2 separate regions of the Homo sapiens genome follow, and region 2 is linked to region 1. The links are contacts of gene promoters, found by promoter capture Hi-C in human tissues and cell types (Jung and others, 2019). All regions are on one chromosome and are shown on one strand. The core of a region is centred on a gene start or on the middle of the fragment in contact, and the rest is flanking DNA. Distances in the headings are between cores, read along the strand shown. Region 1 holds the start of GLE1 (GLE1 RNA export mediator). Region 2 overlaps SPTAN1 (spectrin alpha, non-erythrocytic 1).

Region 1 (4,782 bases), core at 1,355-3,854:
GGTGTGAGACACCAAGCCTGGCTCCCAGCTTGAACTGGCCTCAAGCACTCGTCCTGCCTCAGCCTCGCAAAGTGTTGGGATTATGGGCATGAGTCACCACAACCAGCCTAATAATATTTTAAAAAATAGAAATAGATATGGATATGTATGTATACACCCTTAGTAGTAATAATGAGCATATCTAGTACCAGATCTTGGTTTGTAAATATAATTTTAAATCAAAGGAAACCAGGGGTCTCTGCAGAAAAGGTAAGTTCCAGAACTGGAGGCAGAAAAATATAAGATGAGCGTGGAACATCTTTGTATGAGAAAATAAGTACTGATTACCTATGATATAATAAATAAATGAAAAAACTAGAGTAGTTCAGAGATTGCTACAATGAGATAAAGTAAACTGATTGAGCAAATAAGTAAACATATTGAGAATAACAGGAGCCAAACTTCTCACTGCTAGGTAACATATTTACAAACATGGATGGGGTAAGATTAGAAAGAAAAGTGAAGTGCTGGGTTGGAAGTGGCATTTATCAGTATGAAGTCATGGTTTTATAATATATATGTACACACAAATAGACAGTACATAAATGTGTGTGTGGTGATGTGTGTACATATTTAGATATGTATTATTTCCTAGCTCTGTCTACTGAGAAGGCCTAGAAGCAATGGTACCCAATCAAGAATCTCAACACACTCAACTCCCAGATCTTGGTTTGCCAATACAGCACCATCCTCCACTTCAAAAGAGTCAGCCTCTTTGGAGAAATAGCTGATTCCAGGATTAAGACAGGGAAACTTGCACCTGGGACATCTTTTTGTGTCAAAAAGTAAAGAAATGTCAATGAAAGATGGAAATATGTCACAGGAACACAGGAACCAACTTAATGAGGTGCCCAGTAGCCAAATCTGGGACATTTTTCTTTTTAATTCTTATGAATACATAATTGTTGTACATATTTACAAGGCTACATTTTTTTTTTTGAGACACAGTCTCACTCTGTCACCCAGGCTTGAGTGCAGCAGCACAATCTCGGCTCACTGCAACCTCTGCTTCCAGGGTTCAAGCAATTCTCATGCCTCAGTCTCCCGAGTAGCTGGGATTACAGGCATGCACCACCATGCTCGGCTAATTTTGTATTTTTAGTAGAGATGCGGTTTCACCATGTTGGCCAGGCTGGTCGCGAACTCTTGACCTCAAGTGATCCGTCCCCCTCGGCCTCCCAACGTGCTGGGATTACGGGCCTGAGCCACCACGCCTAGCCTTGCATGTGATTATTTTGATACAAGCTTACAAAATCTGGGACATTTAAAATAAAATAAATAAATAATAAAAGTAATGGATTACAACTCACTGAATAAAATAGAAAGCACCTCCTTACAGTAGAATGCCAACTAACAAATGCAGAAGGAATAGCGGATATAAAGAAACAGGATCTGGCAACGTCATAGAGGTATCGATTCATGTGGAAAACATCAATGAATGCTAAAGCCATGGAGGATTAAGGTTTGCCCAGAAAAAAGGATACTGGTATTATTACTTCCCAACAATTACTAAGGGAAAAATGACGAATTTTAAACGGAGAGACCAGGCAGATAATAACGTAACCAGGTGATCAAGATTAGCATCACCAGTGTTGGGATGGGTTGACATCTGTGTGCCTCCTCATGTGACTTACTGAGAAAGCCATGGCATCATTTCTGTGGTATTCCTGCCAAGAATGCTTAACCTTGGTCTGGTGGTTTGAAAGCACATATGCTGGCAGTCAACCTACAGAATGTAAGGTCTGTATTTTTCAAAACTGTCAACAACATAAAAGACAGGGAAATACTTTAGGATTGTTTCCCAAGAAGTCTGAGGATGCAGGACAACGCCTTATCTGTAGCTAACTAGCAGCGACTCGGGAATGGGAGCTCGGCCTTAACTCTCCACATCCCTCCACTTCTCGCGCAGAGCTTTGCAAATGCTAGGTACGGTGACCACGCCCCCATTCACTTTCCAGGTCTGCCAAATCAATCTAAAAATTTGGTCATTTCACTAGTAGCAATGGATTAGGTCGTGTCAATCGTTCGTCGCAAACTCTAGAGCTCCCAGCACATGAGACATACAGTAAGTTAACTGAACCTGGGGCCGAGATTGCTTTGACAACAGCAGAACGGAGAAGGCGCCCAACTGGCGGAGGGTAGCAATGAAGCCTTCAGAGCGCGGGGCACCTGTGAAGTCAGGGGAGCTCCCCGAAACGCTAAAATAGGCTGAAGAGGACAGAAACCCCAGGACAGAGGGATGTACACACAGAAGTCAAGAAATAAATGCAGGTTGTTAGACTGCACGGGTTCCCGGGAGCAGAACGTGCCAACGGCTAGGGAGAAGGTTTCGGTCGCGAGGGGCCGGAAAGGCCTACGTCCTCCGGGGCCACCGCTCACCTCGCGCCGCAGCAGCCAGTCGCGGTAGTAGCAAAGGCGACCTTTGTCGGAACTGCGTAGGGCCTTCAAGGTCTCCCAGCAGCGACCCTCAGACGGCATGGTTGGCTAAGGGGCAGCTTCTCTGACGCCCCCCTTCTGACCAAACAAGCCCTCGAATCAGCCGCCGGGAAGGCCACACAGGCTTCTGCTTCCGGGACGCGCGCGCAGCACAGCCCCGCCCCTAACGCCTGCACGCCCCACCTCCGGCGACGCTCCCGCGTTCCCGCCCTCCCACCAGTGCGCCTGCGCGCAGGGCTTGGCTGTCGGGGCACGTTCCGCAGAGGTAACCACCGCTCCCAATCCCCGGGGCTGCTGAAAATTTGTCTGTGCCTTGAGACTGTGCAGAAACTGGAACCCTCATACACTGCTCATGGGACTGTAAAATGAAGCACCTGCTGTGGAAGACAGTCTGGCAGTTCCTCAAAAGGTTAAACAATTACCATTTGACCCAGCAATTCTCCTAGGTAAATATATATATATATATAAAATACGCCAAAGAAATGAAACCTATGTATATATAAAAACTTGTCCATGAATGTTCACAGCAGTGTTATTCATAATAGCCAAAAAGTGAAAGCAACCCAAACGTCCATCCATTGGTGAATGGATAAATAAAATATAGTACTATGTGCGCGGTTCCCGAGTTCCCCCGCTTTCTGTGCACTGACCAAGTATCAGAGTGCCTTGACCGCCCTGTGACCCAGCCAGCTGCAAGTTTTTTCCTGCAGACTTGCAACCAAACACGGGCCTTGCATATCCCTAGGCACTAAGGATATCTAGGTTATTGCCCAAAACGCTGAAACTGACCCCTGCTTTTAGCCAAATTCCATAAACCCTCATATAAACTTCATACCCTGACCCCTCGCTGGGGATGTACCTAGGTGAAACACCGCTTCTCTCTGTCTGTCGCGAGAATTGCTGCAGCCCACTCTGTAAGCTTCCCTAATAAATGTTTTGGGTTTAATGCTGCTTTTTTGAGACAGAGTCTTGCTCTGTCCCCCAGGCTGGAGTACAGTGGCTCGATCTCGGCTCACTGCAACCTCCGCCTCCCGGGTTCAAGCGATTCTCCTGCCTCAGCTCCCCGTGTAGCTGGGACTACACGCGCCAGCCACCACGCCCAGCTATTTTGTATTTTTAGCAGAGGCGGGGTTTCACCATGTTGGTCAGGCTGGTCTCGAACTCCTGACCTCAGTTGATCCACCCACCTCGACCTCCCAAAGCGTTGGGATTACAGGCATGAGCCACTGCGCCCGGCCATAGTGCTTCTTTGGAATCCCAACCAGCCCTGTTTGGCAGGAGGAAACACCACATCTATATAATGGAATGTTATGGGGCCATAAAAATAAAGTGCTGATGATACGCTGCAACATCAATCTTGAAAGCATTATGCTGAGAGAAGCCAGTCATGAATGGCCACATGTTGGACAATTCCACTTATGTGAAATATCCAGAAGAGACAAATCTATAGAGCCAGAGAAACTTTATGACTAGTTGCCAGGGGCTGGGGGAGGGGAATGGGGAGTGACTGCTAATGGGTATGGCGTTTCTTTTTTGGGAGTGATGAAATTGGTTGGCTGGGTGCCGTAATCCCAGCACTTTGGAAGGCCAAGGTGGGCAGATCACCTGAGGTCAGGAGTTTCAGACAAGCCTGGGCAACATGGCAAAACCCTGTCTCTACAAAAAATACAAAAATTAGCCAGGCAAAGTGCCATGCACCTATAGTCCCCACAGGCTGATGCAGGAGGATCCCTTGAACTCTGGAGGCAGAGGCTGCAGTGAGCCGAGATGGTGCCACTGCACTGTAGCCTGGGTGACAGAGAGAGACTCCATTTCGAAAAAAGAAAAAACTAGGTCTAGAATTAGATAATGGTGATGGCTACACAACTTGGTGAATATACTACAAACCATTGAATTATATATACACTTTATCTTTTCGAGACAGAATCTCGCCGTGTTGCCCAGGCAGGAGTGCAGTGGCGTGATCTTGGATCACTGCAACCTCCACCTCCTGGGTTCAAGTGATTCTCCTGCCTCAACCTACCAAGTAGCTGGGACTACAGGCGTCCACCACCACTCCCGGCTAATTTTTGTATTTTTAGTAGAGACAGGGTTTCACCATGTTGGCCAGGCTGGTCTCGAACTCCTGACCTCAGGTGATCCACCCGCCTCGGCCTCCCAAAGTGCTGGGATTACAGGTGTGAGTGACCACGCCTGGCCTATATTTACACTTTAAAAGGGTGAATTCTAGGCCAGGTATGGTGGCTCATGCTTGTAATCCCAGCAGTTTGGGAGGCCAAGGTAGGAGGATGGCTTGAGCCCAGGAGT
Region 2 (4,561 bases), core at 772-3,271, 100 kb before region 1:
AGGTACTGAAATGCTACAAGAGACAATTGCAAGGACATAGCAGCTATGCCACAATTCTGGGAAAAACAATTGGCTGGGTAAGAAATGCAGGGTCTCAGGGGAGTGTTATTTGGGGGGCAAAAAAAAAACAACTAAAAGGCAGTAGTGTTGGGGAATTCTGCATCAAATGTTTCATTTCAGAGGCAGCAACTGTCAAAGGATGGAGCCATCTGGCTCAATTCAGCACTAACATGAAATGTCCTTGTTACGTTCTCCCACCGCCTGATCCCAAAGCCAAGAAGGAAAAGGGTCTCAAACACTCAGATATCCTGACAAAAGTCCCATTACCCTCTTCTTCTGTTCCTTGTTCTGATCACCCTTTGGTTCAAATCCCATTTACTCTCTTCTCTATCTTCATTTCTTCCACCCGCTTAAGTAACTTTGAGCTACATGTTGACTGAAGTCTCCTTTCACTACCTGTTGAGTGATGTCTGCTTTTATCTTAACTTCTCATTTGTGTTCCTTGAAGATTTGGAGGTATTAATAGACCATCCGTCTCTCTACAGTTCTCTAGCTGTTCCTCTCCTGACTGGCACCTCTGGATGCCAGAGTGGGTATGCATTAAAACCCTCACACCAGACTGGCCTCCCCAACCCAGGCCACCGAACACCATGAGCTCATAGCAAGTCTGAGCCAATGTCTACACAGAAAAAGCTGAAGCTGATGTTCCATCTTCAAAAGGAAGCACTCCTTGAAAGAAAATGGTCAATTACTGCCCCGCAAATCAAACACTGTACAGAATTTGCCTAAGTGATAAACTGGGGGAGAGAAGGGGGAGTAAGGCGTTGCAGGCTAATTACAACAGAAAAAGCCACATCCCACAGGGACACTTGAATGGAGTGTAATGGATGATTAGAAATGAAAAGGATGGATGAAGAGACACCAGCAAACCGTGTGACCACAATAATAACAATAATCTACGCAGAGTAACACAAATACTGGAGCTCATTTAACTACAACTCTTAAAAAAATTAAAAACTTACCAGCAGCTTGGAAAGCTACAAAAACAGATTAAAAGAACAAGAGTTCAGTACACTGATGTGGACACACATATCAGCTATTAAATAGAAACTCATTTTGTCATACTTCCCCCAGGAAGCTCAGCATTTGGGAACAGTAATAGAAGGGGGATTCTATAGACTTTTATTACAGCAGAAATAGTTTTAATGGAGACAAATGAGGAAGGCAACTTTTAAATGGCTCTGAAACTTGACTAGGGCTTTCCCACTGGCTGGGCTTACTGAAATATTTCTCACTGACTTCCCATGGGTGCAAGGAGATTGTTTTATAAATGCTTTATTTAACAAAATCTACTCAATAACATAAGGCTACATCAAGACCAACACCCAGTCACTTCAGCTTACCTGGATGTTGGTGGGATCCTTGTACGACTCATCACTCGCTGTTTGCAATTTTTCACTGATCCAAGCCTCAATCTCATCCACATCCCGGCTGAACTGTTGGAGGGTTTGAGATTCTCCTAGCTTTGACCTTTTCTCAATCATCTGGGCTTTCAGACGTCGCCACCTGAAAGAGTGAAACCATGAGATCCAACATGAGCATATCTTACCGTGGAGAAGGAAGTGGGGAGACAGAACAGGCCTGGGCCTTCGTATGAGGGGATGCATCCTCTCAGGGCTGGTGACTATGTCAGTGCCACAGGACACCCACCTGTCCAAGACCTCATTGCGCCGGCTAGAAATGTCTCCCTTGGCATAATGGCCGGCAGCGATGAGCTGGTCGGCAAAGGCCTGCAGAGCAGCAATCTTCTCTTCCTGTCAGAAAACAAAGGCATGAGATCAAGGTGGGCCTGTGGCTGGGCCCTGCCTGGACTGCCAGTCTTGAGAAAAGGATAGTTATTTTGGGTGACTGAGAACTAGCTGGTGGCAGGATCAGAATACACTGACACTTTAGAAGCAAGAGTGTAAAATGCCAAAAGAAAGCTTGATTTCATTCATTACTAGAGTAGAGTTTAACTCAAGAAGTCTCCAGGTCACTCAGGTGGGGCAGGTGTTAGAATATCAGAACAGAACAAAATTAAGCCTGATAATAGGAAAATGCTGTCAGATTTACAGCAAAGTGACGTATAAATCAAACAGTTTTACATCTTCCTTGTTGTTTGTTCATTATTCCCTTACCTACCCACACATTTGTTTTCCATCCCTTTGATAATATTTTTTTTTCCTGTGGCACCCCCATTATTAAAATCTCAGAAATACCAGAATCTATAAAGTTTTAAAGATTATTTATGTACATATTTTTCTTAGACAACGCAGGTATTCCTTGGAGATATAACAGTGACTATATAAGCCAAGAAACAGATGTCAATCAGGAAAAATCCAGACTCCAACTCCATGGTCCAGAGGCCTCACCTGGACGTTAATCGCTTTGTCAAAGTCTTCATGTTTTTTGATCAGAGCCTCTACGCTGTCCAGTGAGTCTCCTTTGTCTTCGGTATTCAAGAAGGCCTCCCGGGCAGCCATCCAGTTCTCAGCTTGCTCACAGTCCCGATGGAACAGCTAAAGAGGGCAAGAGGCAGGTGAGAAAATGAGGCCCTTCAGCAAGGAAACACTTGGTCAGAAACCAGGAGCACACACACCTGCAGTTCAAGGCACTGATCCAGCATCATCCTGCGCTGAACCCAGGCCTTCTCCAGGTCTGCACGCTCCTGGTCAAGAATATCAAGTTTCTGCTTGATCTCAGGGCTGGCATAGTGTCCGTGAGCCAACAGCTGCTGTCCAAACTGCTCAAATGCCTGGAAAGTGCCAGCCCTGGCATCGATTTCTGTCCGGTGTTCCTGCCAAAAGGAGGGAAGGGATTAGGTAACTGGCAGCAGATGCCCACTCTGACGTCAACCACCGACTCACCACAAAGGGTGGGAATGAGGCCTCTAGGGCCCTGCAGAGCAGCCACGTCTTTGCTACTCAGCAGGCAGGTCCACCCACCTGGTGTCGCTCCAGCAATGCCTCAGCTCCGGTGACATCCTTGGCTAGCTCATCTGAGGACACCAACCCCCGTATTCCATTGATCCAAGACATGAGGTCCCTGGAAACCAGCACCCCAGAAAAATAGCTATTATATTACCTGGTAAGGAGATCTTCTGCCCAGGAAAACAGAGAATGACATAATTCTTGCCTCAGAAAGTTATCTTGGGTTAATCTGATCTACTGAATGAGGCTAGGTCTTTGGGCAAAGTGTTAAAAAACTTCTTGTTATTTTTTTAAAAGTCCGAATTTCTCAGAGGAAAAGTCAGTAGGCTTATAATTAAGATCTTTTCACCCTCCAGAATAACAAGTTCTAGCTACAATTAAGTCTTTGATAGCTTCAAATGAAAAAGCTTTTGTTGGCCAGGCGTGGTGGCTCATGCCTGTAATCCCAGCACTTTGGGAGGCTGAGGCAGGAGGATCGCTTGAGCTCAGGAATTCAAGATCAGTTTGGGCAATGTGGTGCAACCCTGTCTCTAAAAAAAAAAGAAAAAAAAGAAAAAGCCTTTCTTTAGGATTAACCCTTGAAGCCCTAGGCCTGGGCATACATTTGATCCAGTTTCTCACAGCTGTACAACCACAAGGGCACAAAACTGAGTGTGTAAGGTCAGATATGGTATGATTCCTTTTATATGACATGTCCAGAAGAGGCAAATCCATAGACATAGAAAGCAGATAAAGGATTCCTAGTGGGTGGGGAAGAGAGAAGAGGGGGTGATTAGTTAAGGAATGTTATTCTAGGGCAATGAAAATGTTCCAAAACTAGAGAGGGGTGGCTGCACAACACCGTGAATACATTAAATGTCATTGGATTGCACATTTTAAAGTAGTTAATTGTATGTTACGTGGCTTTTACCTCAATAAAAAGAAGAAAAAGACAACCAGGCGCAGTGGCTCACGCCTGTAATCCCAGCACTTTGGGAGGCCGAGGTGGGTGGATCACCTGAGGTCAGGAGTTCGAGACCAGCCTGACCAACATGGAGAAACCCCGCCTCTACTAAAAAAAATACAAAATTAGCCGGGCTTGGTGGTGCATGCCTGTGATCCCAGCTACTTGGGAGGCTGAGGCAGGAGAATCGCTTGAACCCAGGAGGCGGAGGTTGCGGTGAGCTGAGATCGCACCACTGCACTCCAGCCTGGGCACAAAAGCGAAACGCTTCCCCCCCCAAAAAAAAAATATATATATATATATGTCTAGGGAAAAATATAATGTCATATGGCAAGGAGATGAGAGGGAGTATGCCCATACTTGGATAGGAAAGTAGAGACTTGTTTTTTTTTTTTTTTTTTGAGGCAGAGTCTTGCTCCATCGCCCAGGCTAGAGTACGGTGGTGCGATCTCGGCTCACTGCAACCTCCGCCTCCAGGTTCAAATGATTCTCCTGCCTCAGCCTCCCGAGTAGCTGGAATTACAGGTGTGTGCCAGTGTGCCACCACGCCCGGCTGGTTTGTATTTTTAGTAGAGATGGGGTTTCACCATATTGGCCAGGCTGGTCCTGAATTCCTGACCTCGTGATCCACCTGCTTTGACTTCCCAAA

The links. The method cuts DNA at HindIII sites, captures the fragments that hold promoters and counts their contacts. A contact is called where the count stands out against the background at its distance.
Region 2: a fragment that was not itself captured here is called in contact with the fragment with the promoter of GLE1 in region 1 in 2 of the 25 tissues and cell types used here (dorsolateral prefrontal cortex and liver).

What each region holds. Positions count from the first base shown.
Region 1 is chr9:128,502,541-128,507,322 of GRCh38, reverse strand. It overlaps GLE1 (GLE1 RNA export mediator), which reads right to left and starts at 2,604. Exons shown (of 16, transcript NM_001003722.2): 1 at 2,419-2,604. The coding sequence starts at 2,517. RefSeq lists an enhancer at 2,204-2,363 and a silencer at 2,584-2,793. The HindIII fragment of the contact is 8,169 bases long and covers 1-4,782 here.
Region 2 is chr9:128,606,127-128,610,687 of GRCh38, reverse strand. It overlaps SPTAN1 (spectrin alpha, non-erythrocytic 1), which reads right to left. Exons shown (of 57, transcript NM_001130438.3): 32 at 2,985-3,084; 33 at 2,639-2,836; 34 at 2,412-2,558; 35 at 1,711-1,814; 36 at 1,404-1,566; 37 at 1,023-1,037. Among named protein-coding and RNA genes, the nearest start is that of DYNC2I2, 48 kb to the left of the region's middle. The HindIII fragment of the contact is 5,536 bases long and covers 1-4,561 here.